Linked DNA regions of Homo sapiens: region 2 is linked to region 1. Evidence: promoter capture Hi-C in human tissues and cell types (Jung and others, 2019). All regions are on one chromosome and are shown on one strand. Each heading gives the region's core, a stretch centred on a gene start or on the middle of the fragment in contact. The rest is flanking DNA. Distances are from core to core; before and after follow the strand shown.

Evidence for each region. Contacts are between HindIII fragments. The study calls those that stand out against the background at their distance.
Region 2: a contact is called between a fragment that was not itself captured here and the fragment with the promoter of PPARA in region 1, in 1 of the 25 tissues and cell types used here (dorsolateral prefrontal cortex).

What each region holds. Positions count from the first base shown.
Region 1 is chr22:46,147,736-46,154,966 of GRCh38, reverse strand. PPARA (peroxisome proliferator activated receptor alpha) reads right to left here and starts at 4,441. Exons shown (of 9, transcript NM_005036.6): 1 at 4,315-4,441; 2 at 2,997-3,079. RefSeq lists an enhancer at 3,701-3,890 and silencers at 4,101-4,220, 4,371-4,980. The HindIII fragment of the contact is 15,597 bases long and covers 1-6,476 here.
Region 2 is chr22:45,045,055-45,052,285 of GRCh38, reverse strand. No RefSeq gene overlaps it. Among named protein-coding and RNA genes, the nearest start is that of PHF21B, 39 kb to the right of the region's middle. RefSeq lists enhancers at 1-354, 2,153-2,726. The HindIII fragment of the contact is 3,274 bases long and covers 1,569-4,842 here.

The DNA.
Region 1 (7,231 bases), core at 3,192-5,691:
GTGCAGTGGTTCATGGCTTAGTCCCAGCACTATGGGAGGCCGAGGCAGGAGGATGGCTTGAGCCCAGGAGTTTGAGACAGGTCTGAACAACATAGCAAGACCCCGTCTCTGCAAAAAATACAAAAATGAGTCAGGCCTGGTGGCGTGTGCCTGTGGTCCTAGCTGCTTGGGAGGCTGAGGTGGGAGGATCACCTGAGCCCAGGGAGGTCGAGGCTGCAATAGGCCGTGATCATGCAGCTGTGCTCTAGCCTAGGTGACACAGTGAGACCCTGTCTCAAAAATAAATAAATAAATAAATAAAATTAAAAACACTGCTTAAAGATGATTACATAAATATTTATTTATTTTTTGAGACCAGGTCTCACTCTGTCACCCAGGCTGGAGTGTAGTGGTGCCATCTCAGTCACTGCAACCTCCACTTCTCAGGCTCAAGGGATCCTCCCACCTCAGCCTCCCAAGTAGATGGGGCCACAGGCACACGCCACTATACCTGGCTAATTTTTGTATTTTTAGTAGATGCAGGGTTTCGCCAGGTTGCCCAGGCTGGTCTTGAAGCCCTGGGCTCAAGCAATCCATCCCCTTCGGCCTCACAAAGTGCTGAAACCATAGGCGTGAGCCACTGCGCCCAGGCTACTTAAATATTTATTTAAAAAACAGACTCTCCAAAACAGCATGCAAGAAAAAGAACACTGGCCACCAATTACTAAAGAGTAAGATGTCCCGGCAAAAATAGGTTCTTCATCTTTTACCATGATGAGGATTATCTTTAAGTTTCTTTTTTATATTCTGGTATGAAAATCAGTTTCATGGATTCATGCTTGTCTTGTTCAGCACTGCGGACAGTAGCCCACAGCAGCTACTCAGTCAATATTTATAGAATGACTGTATTAAATATATACACATAAAGAGATTGGCTAAATATTATTGTATCTAAACACAATGGGATATTATATAGACATTTCAAATGATGCAGAAATGTTTTTCACATAGGAAGATTTTTCATAACCTACTCGATAAAGCAAGTTACAAAATAGTGTATAAAGAAGACACATTTTCTCCTTCTTCTCTGTCTAGTTCTGTCTCTCTCATATACAATTTTTTTTTTTTGGAAACGGAGTCTTGCTCTGTCACCCAGGCTGGGGTGCTGTGGTGCCATCTCAGCTCACTGCAACCTCCACCTCCCGGGTTCAAGAGATTCTCCTGCTTCAGCCTCCTGAGTAGCTGGGACCATAGGCACCCGCCACCATGCCCAGCTAATTTTTGTATTTTTAGTAGAGACAGGGTTTCACCATATTGGCCAGGCTGGTCTCAAACTCCTGATCTTGTCATCTGCCCACCTCAGCCTCCCAAAGATTACAGGTGTGAGCCACCGCACCCGGCTGATACACAATTTTTAAAACTCTGTTCATAAGTTTGACAAACAGGAGCTAATGAAAACCACTGCAGTATTCGATGATTATGACACGTCTCCTACTTTACGTTTAAGATGTCGGAAAAGGGCCCGGCGCGGTGGCTCGCACCTGTAACCTCAGCCCTTTGGGAGGCCAAGGCAGGCGGTTCACCTGAGGTCAGGAGTTTGAGACCAGCCCAGCCAACATGGTGAAACCCACCTCTACTAAAAATACAAAAATTAGCCGGGTGTGGTGGTGAGTGCCTGTAATCCCAGCTACTCGGGAGGCTGAGGCAGGAGTATTGTTCGAATCCGTGAGGTGGACGTTGCGGTGAGCCAAGATCATGCCACTGCACTCCAGCCTGGGTGACAAGAGCAAAACTCTGTCACAAAAAAAAAAAAAAAAAAAAAAAGGATGTGGGAAAAGAAAGAAAAAACATTTTTTTCTAATGTCAATTAGTTAATTAATTTTATTTTATTTATTTATTTTTGAGACGGAGTCTCGCCCTGGCGCCCAGGCTGCAGTGCAGTGGCACAATCTCAGTTCACTAAAACCTTCACCTCCCAGGCTCAAGCGATTCTCCTGCCTCAGTTTCTTGAGTAGCTGGGATTACAGATGTCCGCCACCATGCCCAGGCAATATTTCTATTTTTTTGTAGAGACAAGGTTTCACCATGTTGGCCAGGCTGGTCTCGAACTCCTGGCCTCAAGCGATCTGCCCACCCCAGCTTCCAAAGTGCTGGGATTACAGGAGTGAGCCACCGCACCCAACTTGCCAATTAGTTTACTTTTGCTTCAGAGTTGCAGAGGTCATCATCAGCCCCAGTGTCCCTGGTCTCTCATGGATGGTGACCACACAAATTTGTATCATCTGGCCCGTTTCTTCAGCCTATCCCTGGCATGTTCTGGCACGGGTCTATCTCAAGAAGCCATCTGCTTAATATTCAAATCAAAATGAAAACAGCTCAGAGACAGTACACTACTCGGTACCAGTCAGTGTGGACATCCCAAGGGTCTAGTAAGCACTCACGTTTCTCAAAGTTAATGTCATCAAGTTTTAAATTATACAAAACATGCCTGCCACGAAGCAATGAAGTTCCTAGCAAAAGTCACACAATAACTCAGAACTTCAAAGTGAATCCTAGGCCAGGCACGGTGGCTCACGTCTGTAATCCCAGCACTTTGGGAGGAACAGGTGGATCATGAGGTCAGGAGTTCAAGATCAGCCTGGCCAAGATGGTGAAACCCCGCCTCTACTAAAACTACAAAAATTAGCTGGGCATGGTGGCAGGCGCCTGTAATCCCAGCTACTCGGGAGGCTGAGGCAAGAGAATCGCTTGAACCCCAGTGGCAGAGGTTGCTGTGATCTGAGATTAGGCCACTGCACTCCAGCCTGGGCGGCAGAGCGAGACTCCGTCTCAAAAAAAAAAAAAAAAAAAAAAAATGAATCCATGCACATGTATTTTACTTTCAGTCTGAAAACGTATCTAACCTTGCATCACAAAGTAATAACCCCCAGATTGCTGGTCTGTAGTGCAACAGAAGTAAACACTGAAAACACTTAAATATTTCCATCTGGAAACAGTAAATTAAACCTTCTATTTACCTGTGGTGACAGCTTCTCAGTTCTGAGCTTGTCTTGCCACAAACTGTTGAGTCCACAGAGCAGACAGGGCCCTGAGCTTCAGCCTGGCAGTAAGAAGGTGAAGGAGGAAGTGATTACGGTTGTTCTCTGGATGCCCCCCAACTCTTCACCTTGGAAGAGGAAAGTCATGCTGACCCTGCCCCGCAACGACACGGGTGTCGCAGGGTCCTTCCCAGGAAAATCCCGTGTCCTTGCCCTGACCCAGTTCCCCAAGGCACCCTTATCCCAAGGAGGCTGGGAGAGGAGGGGCCTCCCTGGTTTCCTGGCAGGGGTCGGCTGAGGCTGACGTGGGCGTGCAGCCCCGGAGGTCCCACGAAGCCCAGGCCATTGGACAACTGTGGGTTTTTCTTGGAAAGAATCCTGACACTTGGAGCACACTTCCTCTCTTTTAACTTTTAAAAAAGACTTCAGAAAAGCACAGGCGTGCAGTTGTGCCCGGTTGGGGTGCGTGAGGGGGCAGGGCCGACCCTCCTGACTTCCACTGGCACCACCCCGCGCCCCTCCAGCTTCACCCGCACCACGCGGGCCGCGCAGCCCGGGACTCCGGAAAGACCTGGGCGCCCGACCCTCAGCGGCCCCGACCGGGAGCGACGTGGCGCGGCTTCCGCAGAGAAGCCACCCGGCCCAGCGCAGCCTGTCCGGGGTCGCCCCGCCGCGTTGGGGCACAAAGTGGGAACCGTTCCTCAAAGGTGGTCGCAGCTGGAGGAACAAACACGCGCGTCTCCGTCCGACGGCAGAAGCCGGGCGCACCCACCCAGGGTCGGTCTGTCCGGGGCCCGGGTTTCCTCGCCTCGGAGATCCCTGGAGGTCTCGGAAAGCACCTTCTGAGTCGGCGACGCCCCAGCTCCGCTGCGCCGAGGAAAGGGCAAGTCCCGATGTCCCCGCCCGTGGGCCCTCCCTCCGAGGGGACAACCCGAAGACCCAGAGTCGCTGCGGTCCCCAGACCCGACCTCCGCGCAGCGCCAAACCCCAGGGACAGCCGCGGACTCGGGTTCCGGGCAGGCCCCCAGCGCTAGGAGGGAGGCCGAGCTGGGCCCCGAGATCCCTCGCAAGAGTCCTCGGTGTGTGTCCTCGCTCCTCGCCCTCAGGTCCCCAGCCGCGCACCCCGGGCCCCCGGGTCCCCGGGACCCGGAGACCCCGAGACCCCGGGCCCCGCGCATGCGCCGCCCAGCCCCTGCCCCTCCCCCGTCCGCCGCCCTCCGGGTCCCGGGACCTGGGAAGCCCGGACCGCGGACCCCCGCGCGCGTTCCCGCCCGCCCGCCCGCCCGCCCCCGGGCACCTGGGCCGCGGTCCGCCGCCTGCCGGTCCGTGGGGCGAACGCCGAAGGAGGCGGCGCCGGGCAGGGCGCTAGCGGCCGCCTCCGCCCCCGCCGCCCGCTGCCCCCGCCGCGGGGCCGCCGCGTCCACGGCCCATGCCCGGCGCCGCCTCCGCGCGTCCGTGCCAGCCGCGCCCCCGCGACACGCACCGCCCCTCGGCCCGCCCCCTGCCCCGGTCCGCGCGAGCCAGTGTCCCGAGGCCCGACCCGGAAGCCCCGCCCGCCCCGCGCGCCCTCCGGGCCCCGGGCCTCGGCCCCGGGACACACCCCCCGGAGGGCGGCGCCCGATTGGCTGCTCGCGGTGGGCGGGGCCCCGGGAGCGCTCAGCGGCTCCCACCTAGCGCCCCGCGGCCGCTGCAGCCAAGGGAAACTGAGGCCGGAGAGGTGGAGGGACCGTCCAAGGTCACCGATGGGACACCGCTGAGCGTCAGCGCCCCTCCAGCCCGGCGCACCGGGGCGGGGCTGAATTCGAGGCGGGGACGCGCGGCCGCGGGGCGGGTGGAGGTTCCCGCCGGGCGCCCGTGCCACGCTGGCGAGCCCCTCCTGCCTCCTCGATGAGCCCGGCTCTGCTACTCTGTGCGATGAGCCGGTCTAGACCCGGGACCCGGGACCGGGTGCCCTTGAGGCTCAGAAGTGCGTAGGGTGGGAGGCGGCCCGGGAGGGACCTTGTCCCTGGAACCCCAGGATGCAAAATAAGGAGAAGGGGAAGGCGAGCTGGGAGGACAAGGAAACAGGTGGCGGGAGGTGCCAGGGCGGTGTGGTGGGCGGGGGAACGAGGAGGGTGAAGGGCAACGCGGACGGGCTCGGGGAGGCGCCGCCAGCTCCGACCCCACAACCCCACCCCTCTCCAGCGGCCCAAGAGCCATGCCCGCCCCTACTTCATGCGCTGGGGGGTGAGGGGCTGACTTTGTGCCTACGCAAGGCGCTGGGACTCTGCCAGAGCAAGGAGAGGTCGCGGCCCGGTGGCCAATGGCGAGGAGTAGGAGAGCGCCCTGCAAAGCCGCTTTGTTCGGGCCGTGACGCTCGAGCTGCCGGAGCGGAATGCACAAAGCCCCTGGGTGCCGGCACATCAGGGCTCCCCTCCTCGGGAACGCAATGTGTGCTATGCCCGCTCCACTGCCTGCCCTCCGCTGCCAGCTGTGCCTGCCACTGTGCTATTTGTGGCAGCGGGCGCCCAGGAGGACCCACTCCGGAAAGCAAACCCAGATCTCATTAGGCAGGGGAACTGGAGATCAGGCGGGAACTGGCCCTTTCACAAACTTCTCTTAAACTCACCCTTGTTGATTAGCCAGGCACCTATGGTGAACTTTGCCCCACCCTCCAGACACCCACATATCCTTCCCACTGGCACACGGCAACCTCACCTTCTCTTGCACATGTTAGCCAGCAATAGCTATCATTTATGTTGTTTCAGAGTTTATAGGGTGACCTGTACACGTAATATCCTGCATATCTCGTGGGGTGTGCAGGCAGCCACATCCAAGCTTGTCATCCTGTTGTGTTTGGTGAGGGAAGCTGACCCTGGGCTGCCCACGCAGAGCTCAGGGGCTACATCCTCATGAGGACCTCCGGGCTCAAAGACATTACCTGGCATACCCATATCCCAGACTCTCAAGGACCAGGGTCCACACAGGTGTGTGACCCAGATGCACCACCCAGGTCAACCAGGTGTTGAAAGACCTAGTGAACATTCTCATGAACAAGGACAAAGGCTATGTGGGGGTGTGCAGAGTGGTCACGTACACTCAGCAGACATAGGAAAGTGATATTCTTGGGTTTTTTGGGGCTCCCAAGGTTTTAGGGAGAGAAAACTTGTTTTTCATCCATGTGTCCCAGAAATAAGCATTTTCAATCAAATGCTGTCAGCCAGTCTCCCGCAGGCGTCCTGAGGGTAGAAGCAAGTTCAGGACTCTTCTCTTGGGAGTATCCTGGCCAGAAACAGCCCCATATCCATGCTTCCCGGGGGTGGTAGGTTTCTTCTGGGAAACCACGCTCAGATGAGAGAGATGAAGCAATTTTCTGTTGGCCACGAAGACCTTGTCACACACCCAGCATGGGAGCAACTGTCACAAAGGGCACACCCTCACCCCCATTCCCAGCTCCAGGAAGTCTCTCTTTACCTTCTTCAGTGCTGATGAAATGAGGGCCACACGACAGAACAGAAACACCGCTGGCGCAGGGACTGAGTAGAAATCTGTAACTTTGAGGACAAATCAGTGCTCCTGAAAATGTCTCTGAGCACCACCTGAGTTTCCTCTCTGGCGCCTTAGTGACTACTGGGAGCATCTGGTGCATATGGATCTTAGTTCATAGCTACCATTTATGTGGTGACAATGCTGTCTCAGGTCCCTTTTTACATTTTCTGATCCGGAAGATGTTCTGAGGGTAATTATTACTGTGCCCACATTGCAAGATGGAGACTGAGGCACAGAGAAGCCCCATCTGCACTGGGTCCCCCAGGCCAGCGGCAGGGCGCAGGACGGAAGGCAGGTCTGTAAAGCCCACGTCTGCCCTGCTGAGCTGCTCTCTCCTGCAAGTGCTGACCTGCCAGCCAGCCAGAGAAGCCGAGGCTCTCCCACAGCCTCAGGGAAAGAATTGGGAAGCTGGGAATTCAGACGGGAAGGGGTTGCTGGAGGAGGCAACCTGGAGTGATAGGGCTTGGCCGCTCAGTACAGGGCAGCAGTTAGACCCTGAGTGCTGGGAGCAGGTGATGACGGTCATCTGTGTTCAGGGACCCCAGTGCTTTCCCTGACCCTGCCAGGGTGAAGCTTCTCCTATGGGCCTGGGGTCCAGGCTGGAGTCTGTTTGCCAGCCAGGGCCTGCGAAGTTTGCTGCTGGCTTGCCCTCTGCTGATGTGCAAAGCTCTCTGTCAAGGGGGAGT
Region 2 (7,231 bases), core at 1,956-4,455, 1.1 Mb after region 1:
GGAATCATTGTCCTATTTTCAGAGATCTCTGAGTTAGAGCCTGGGTCTTGGGGGAGGTGACAGAGAGCTGGGGCGGGCCTTACGGGGGGTGGAATCCCACACCCGTCATCCATGCCCGATGCGGCAGGCCCTGTGCCCAGGGCTCGGGTCCTAGGCTGGTCTCTGCTCCGTGCCGCTTCTGTTCTTAAGGGTGGAAAGAAGATGTGAGTGGATAAGCTTGGATGTGCTGCGGGCTCTAAGGTGATGGCCAAAGGACACACAGAGCTCTCCTGCAGGAGGAAAGGCAGAGCCTGGCTTGCAGAAGTGCAGGGTGACCTCCTGAGGAGGTTGAAGGAGGCTGGGCAAGTGCTCAGAAATCTGAAGGTGGTCCCATGAGAAATGGGGTGGACTGACGTGGGAGCCATGACTGCTGCCCAGGGCTTTGCTGTAGACAACCAGATAGAGGACAGGGGAGGGGCTGCTTGGGGGAGAGGGAGTGGGGACTTTTATTTGAACCTGAGATGCCCACTGAGAGTCCAGAGAGGTGACAAGAAGGAGCTGATGGCCACGCACAGTACTCAGGGAGAGATGCGGCTGAAGGGCATTTAGCCCAGGTGAGTCACGTGCTGGGGTGGCCAACCAGAGAGCAGAGGCTCAGGATGGGCAGAGGGGCCACCTGGCCATGGAGCCTGGGAAGGAGGGTGGGGAACAGTGGGAGCCGGGGGCCACGGGAAGAAGGGGGCAGTCCAGGAGTTGAGTGTTGCTGAGGACAGATGGGGACCACGAACATGGTGGCCCTGAGGTTGCGGTGGGACAGTGATGGCCAAAGCCAGGAGGGATGGGTTGGAGTGGGACGGGAGCAGGGGTGGAAAGAGCCAGCACCTGGGCCCCTCTTTATGGGGTGCATTGAAAGCCTTACATTGGGAGAGTAATGACTTACACTGAACTTCTGGAGTGGGCGCCCTGGTAAGAAGTGGAGGGCGTAGGATCCTGAGCGAGGTGGGTGGTGCGTGACCAGAGCCTCGGGAGGTGCCCCATGAAGAGGCCTCAGTCAGGGCTCATAGGGGTGCTTGGCCTCCGCTTACTTACTCTCTCAGCTGCATTCCATGGGGGACACCACCTCCTCACCAAAACACCCTCTTCCAGCACATTCTGTGAGGCCACAGTGCCTGGATTTTCCATGGTACATTCTTGGGCAGGAAGTCTTGGGGTGGGGGGCACAAGTAGAACAAGAGAATGACAATCACGATGAATTATGTGGGCACATGGCACCTTTACGTCCATTATTCTCTTTAACGGGTAGATGGTGCAAATACACTTGTCATCCCTGTTTTACAGGTGAAGAAACTGAGTCACAGAGAAGTTGAGGGACTTTCCCAAAGACACATAGCAGGTGATGGCAGAGGCTTGACTGGAACACAGAGGGGTCCTCTGAGTTCGGGATACTCCTCAGCTGAACTCCTGTGTGAAAGCGCAGGGGCTGCTCTGAATAGGGGAAGGGGACAGAAGCCTCCCTCAAGAACAGGCTTCCATCAGCTCACGGTCGGAGCTGTACCATGTTGAGCAAACCACCTTCTGTTCCAGCAGCTCAATGTGCAATGAACTTTCATTCCACTGCAGCCCAGGCTCAGGGCACAAAGCCACTGTCTCAGGGTGCCAGTTGGCGGGAACATAGGGCTTGTAAACTGTGCACTTCACAGAGAATCTGATGGCTTCTGAAACACACTGATGTCCCAAGTAGAGGCAGCACTGTGCGTTGTGACATGGGAGGAGGCTGTGACACTCACTCACCCCTGGACAGAGCAGTGTTTTTCCATGTGGTCCTCCCCCATGGATAGTCTCTCCTTTATCCTAACGTGCAGGAATCCTCTAAGCTATTGTTTTCCCCTTTGCAATGGACCCCAGCTCCTGCAAATCCAGGAACTAGTTTTTTTCTAGGTGGACAGAGAAAAATGGCACCTAATTAAGATTAGACGTGCTTTTGCCATTCTTTGAAACTTATTCCCCTCTGCAAGTTAATAATCTCTATTGAACACACTTTTCAGGGTGAATAATTCACTCTGGGGGACAGTGGCAGTGTGAACTGTCCCTGATTTACCTTACATGGCTTGGAACTTTGAAAATATCTCCCTTTAACTGTGGAGTTGAAATAGCTCAGAATTCCTATAATAATTGTAATTACAGCTGCTGTTTAGTTAGTCCCAGTGATGTACTAGATACTTCACATCCATGTTCTCAGCTTCCCAGAAAACCCCTGCAAGCTGGGAATTATCGTCCCCACTAGAAAGAGAGAGGGAGAGAGAGATGTATATCTCAGAGAGGTTAAATAACTGACTTAAAGTCACATAGCTGATCAGATCTGACGTAAGATTGGAACCAGATCTGCCTGCCCATGGTTCCTTCATTGCCCATGCTACTCTGACTCAAGGAAGGACCTTAACCTTAATCTTGTCCCCCGCTGCAGGCTCTGCAGGTGAAGACACTCATCCTCAGAGGGGAGGCTGTGGGAGAGTTAAGGATAGCTGAGGAGTTCTCAGAAGCGGGGCAGTGGCTCAGTTTCCTCCTGTGCGGAATGGCAGGTGGAGGAGTGAGGGGTGATGGCAAGTTGGGGACAGGCTAGACCCAGGCGGCCCAGAGATCCATGTAAGGGGCACCGGGGAAAGGCAACGTGCCTGGAGTGGGACAGACTGTTGTCTAGCTCAGCGCAGCAGAAAGAGCAGGATGGCCGGGTGTCGGCCACAGACCTGCATCACACATCCCCTTCAGCTACCTGCTGGTGCCACTAGCCTGGATGTAACGCTTCTTCACAGCTCTTCCACCAGGGCATCCACGGCAGGCTCAGCTCCTCCTGCTGGGTTTTCCAGGTCTCTGTGTTCTGTAGCTAAATCACCCTCCAGCTGTGTGTGTCCGCACAATTTCTGCTGGATTTTAAAAAACAAGCTTTGTGTGTGCACGTGTGCTTGAGCTTGTGTGTGTCTTTAATTCGGTAGATCCAATCTAGAAGGAAGGGCGTCACATCCCCATCCATGGCTTCGGCTCTCGTCTGGCCACTCGGGACGCTCCAAATCTATGACTCCTGCCTCCCGGGTATCCCAAGGGCACCCAAACATCGGAGCCACAACTGGATCCCTCAGCCTCTTGATGAACCTCCTCCCCTGTTCCTGCTGCCTCCCTGAAGGGCCCCATGACTTCCTTTGCCTAAATAACAAAGCTGAAGTCCTTCATCATTCCCCTCACTCAACTCCACACCCAACCAGACAGGAGTCTTGTCTAAAGCTCTCTAATGTCTGTCCCCTTGCCTCTGTCCCTCCACTGAAGCCTCTAGACCAGCCTTCTCCCTCCAAGTCTCAGCCCCAGGAGCCAGAGTGAGCTTGCTAAAGTGCAAATCACAGAAACAAGGTGGAGGTAAGGTAGACAACTGCCACGCCTCCCTCCTCTGGGAGCAGCCTCCTGTGCCTGCATAACCTCGCACTGCCCTCCACTCTGGCCCATCTGTGGGAGGGAAGGATGCACCTGTGGGAGGGAAGGATGTGTGCAGGTGAGCAGGGAGAGAGGCCACGAGGTGCGGACTGCAGCCTCATGGCACAGCAAAAGTGCAAAACACCAAGTGTCCACCATGTGGGAATTGCTAAATCAGGGCTGCAGGGAGAAACTCAATGCCTGGACTAGGTCCTGGAACAGAAAAAGGGCCTTAGTGAGAAAACTGGTGAAACGCAAGCAAAAGATTTCGTTAATAATGATATACCAACGTGCATGTTTAGTTTTGACAAATGTCCCATGGTTATGGCAACATTAGGGGAACTCTGTGCTATATTCACAACATTTCTGTAAATCTAAAATTATTCCAAAATAAGACGTTCATTTTAAAAGAAAATGTGGTTGGTCATGGTGGCTCATGCCTATAATCCCAGCACTTTGGGAGGCCAAGGTGGGAGGATTGCTTGAACCCGGGAGTTCAAGGCCAGGCTGGGCAACATAGGGAGACCCCATCTCTATCAAAAAATACAAAAATTAGCCAGGCATGATGGCATGCACCTGTGGTCCCAGCTACTGGGCAGGTTGAAGATCACTCGAACCTGGGAGGTCAAAGCTGCAGTGACACCTGATTGCTCCACTGCACTCCTGCCTGGGTGACAGTGAGACCCTGTCTCAAAAGAAAAAAGAAAAAAATATATATTATGGTGCATTCGCTAAGTTGAATAAGATGCAAGCTTAAAAAAGCAGATAGTATCTATTTACAAATAGTATCTATTACAGAAAAATATTCCCGATTCTTGATATGTTTATAGACAAAAGCAAGTTACAAGATGGTATATATAGTATAATGTTATGCATGTATGCACGGATATCTATATTTATTCTTTAAAAAATGCTTCCCTGTATATGGAATTGGATTGGTGCTGGTTGTGTTGTTATTGTTTTAATTCTGAAATGATTCATCCCAAACTGAAAACAGCAGTTACCCCCGAGGAATGAGATCTGGAGAAGTCATTTCTTGGGAGGCTCTTTGGTGTCATTTTCATTGGTTATCACTAATATGGGCTGCTTTAATAACTTAGACAAATATTTACAAAAGCAAACTTGATCATCTCACTTCCCTTAAAGTAGTCAGTGGATCCTGCCTTTATTCATCAAAGATTTATTGAATGTCTGCTGTGTCTCAGGCTCGGTGTGAAAGCTGGAAAGTGGCCAGGGCACGGTCACTGAGGTGGAGCCCCTGGGGGAGTCAGAGGTCACAGGCACTTTTGATAGCATCGGAGAAGTCCTCAGATGGGACAGCACAGGCTGCGTGGCCTCCAGGGAATGTCCCAGCTGAGGGGCACTAGGGCCTGGGGGGATAAGGGGGTGGGCACAGCTGACCTGGAAATTGCAGCATAGAGGTAGCAGCAGTTAGCCATGGGGGACAGGCTGTGCTGAAGCCCAGAGGCCAGCGAGACTTGGGGAGAGAGAGACTGCTGGTGTCCAGCGTGGCTGGAGTGACCACTGAGCTGGGCAGTTGGTGAGGAGCAGCTTGGAAGCTCTCAACCTTGAAGCTGAGGAGTCTGAGCCAGGAGGGCCATGCTTATATTTGCTGCTGGATGGTGAATGAGCTGCTGGAGGATGTATGAGTCTGTTCTCGCAACTGCTATAAAGAAATACCTGGGACTGGGTAATTTATAAAGAAAAGAGGTTTAATTGACTGATGGCTCCATAGGTTGTACAGGAAGCATAGCAGCTTCTGCTTCTGGGGTAGCCTCAGGAAACCTAAAATCATGGCGGAAGGTGAAGGGGAAGCAGGCACGGCTCACATGCCTGGAGCAGGGGGAAGGGTCATATCAAATGAATAATTGAATAAATACATCCCCATCCTTGCTGCATATCTTTAACTGGGCAGATTTGAGGCATTTTTATTAGAATTTGAGAGGTGAGGGCTGGTGGTGAGCATCCTCTTGGCTCTGTCTCTTCATCAGGACAGGCTCCTGGGTTGCTTCTGGGTTTAGCTGGGATAAATGTTCTGCAAGTCAGTAAATAAAAGCTTAGGCAAAGTAGTGATGAGGACAGACCTATGGCAAGGGCACAACTGTATTACCTTTTCTTTCTTTCTTTCTTTCTTTTTGAGACAGTGTCACTCTGTCACCCAGGCTGGAGTGCAGTCGCGTGATCTCGGCTCACCACAACCTCCGCCTCCCTGGTTCAAGGGATTCTCCTGTCTCAGCCTCCCGTGTAGCTGGGATGAGAGGCATGTACCACCACACCCGGCTAATTTTTTGTATTTTTAGTAAAGATGGGGTTTCACCATGTTGGCCAGGCTGGTCTCAAACTCCTGACTTCAGGTGAGCCGCCTGCCTCGGCCTCCCAAAGTGCTGGGATTATAGCCATGAGCCACTGCGCCCAGCCTCTTTTCTTTTTTTTTGAGACAGGATCTTGCTCTGTTGCCAGGCTTACTGCAACCTTACTGCAACCTTACTCCCAGGCTCAAGTGATCATCCCGCCTCAGCCCCCCCAGTATCTGGGACTATAGGCTTGTGCCACCATGTCTGGATAATTTTTGCATTTTTTTGTGGAGATGGGGTTTTGCCATGGTGCCCAGGGTGGTGTCAAACTCAGGGGCTCAAGTGGTCCGCCCACCTTGGCCTCCCAAAGTGCTGGGATTACAGGTGTGAGCCATCACCCCTGACATATATTAAAATCTTTAACTGAAAAAAGAACTAGAATATAATGGAATTGAATTTTTTTTTAGTGGGTAAACAGTGAACATGGAATAACTAAGACATATACTGGTTAAACTTTTAAAAATCTACAAGTAAATTGTCTCATCAAAAACTTCGGTTTTTTAGCCAGGTGGCTCACACCTGTAATCTCAGCAGTTGGCGAGGCCAAGGTGGGTGGATCACTTTAGGTCAGGAGTTCAAGATCAGCCTGGCCAGCATGGCGAAACTCCGTCTCTACTAAAAATACAAAAATTAGCCCGGTGCGGCGGTGCGTGCCTGTAATCCCGGCTACTTGGGAGGCTGAGGCGTGAGAATTGCTTGAACCCGGGAGGCGGAGGTTGCAGTGAGCCAAGATTGCACCACTGCACTCCAGCGTGGGTGACAGAGCAAGACTCTGTCTCAAAACAAACAAACAAACAAACAAACAAAACTTCTGTTGTTGTTGTTTTTTTTTTAAGGAAAAAGCCTTTTGTTATAAATGAAATGGTGTAGAATCAGGAAGCAAGGGAAAGGGCAATAAACATTCTCCAGGTCAAGAAATTAATGAGGAAGGGCTCTCCCTTAGTTCTTGTAGATTTTAATAAATTACCTGGAAATGGAGGCACTCTGTGAAATATCTGAGTTTCTAACTGTCGCTTCCTCCTCTGGGAATGACTTGCCAAACTCAGAGAGCGTCTCCAGGCAGGTCTCCTGAGAATCCTGCGTGGGAAGCACGTGCTGGATGAACTCTGTGTCTGCAAGCAGCAGTTAATGCCGTCAGGGGAAGATAACTCAGTTGTGCCAATAAAACGACTGCTCTGAGCTATCAGTTATGATTCAATAAAGAGTCAGGAATAACGCATCTAGAATTAGGGAATTCTGGAACCAGAAGAACCACATTGATGGTTGGATTTGATCCCTATTTATTTTTTGTTTTGTTGTGGTTTTGAGACAGGGTCTCCTTCTGTTGCCCAGGCTGGAGGGCAGTGGTGCAATCTCAACTCACTGCAACCTCCACCTCCCAGGTTCAAGAGATTCTCCTGCCTCAGCCCTGCCGACGCCTCAAAACCAGCCTAGGCAAC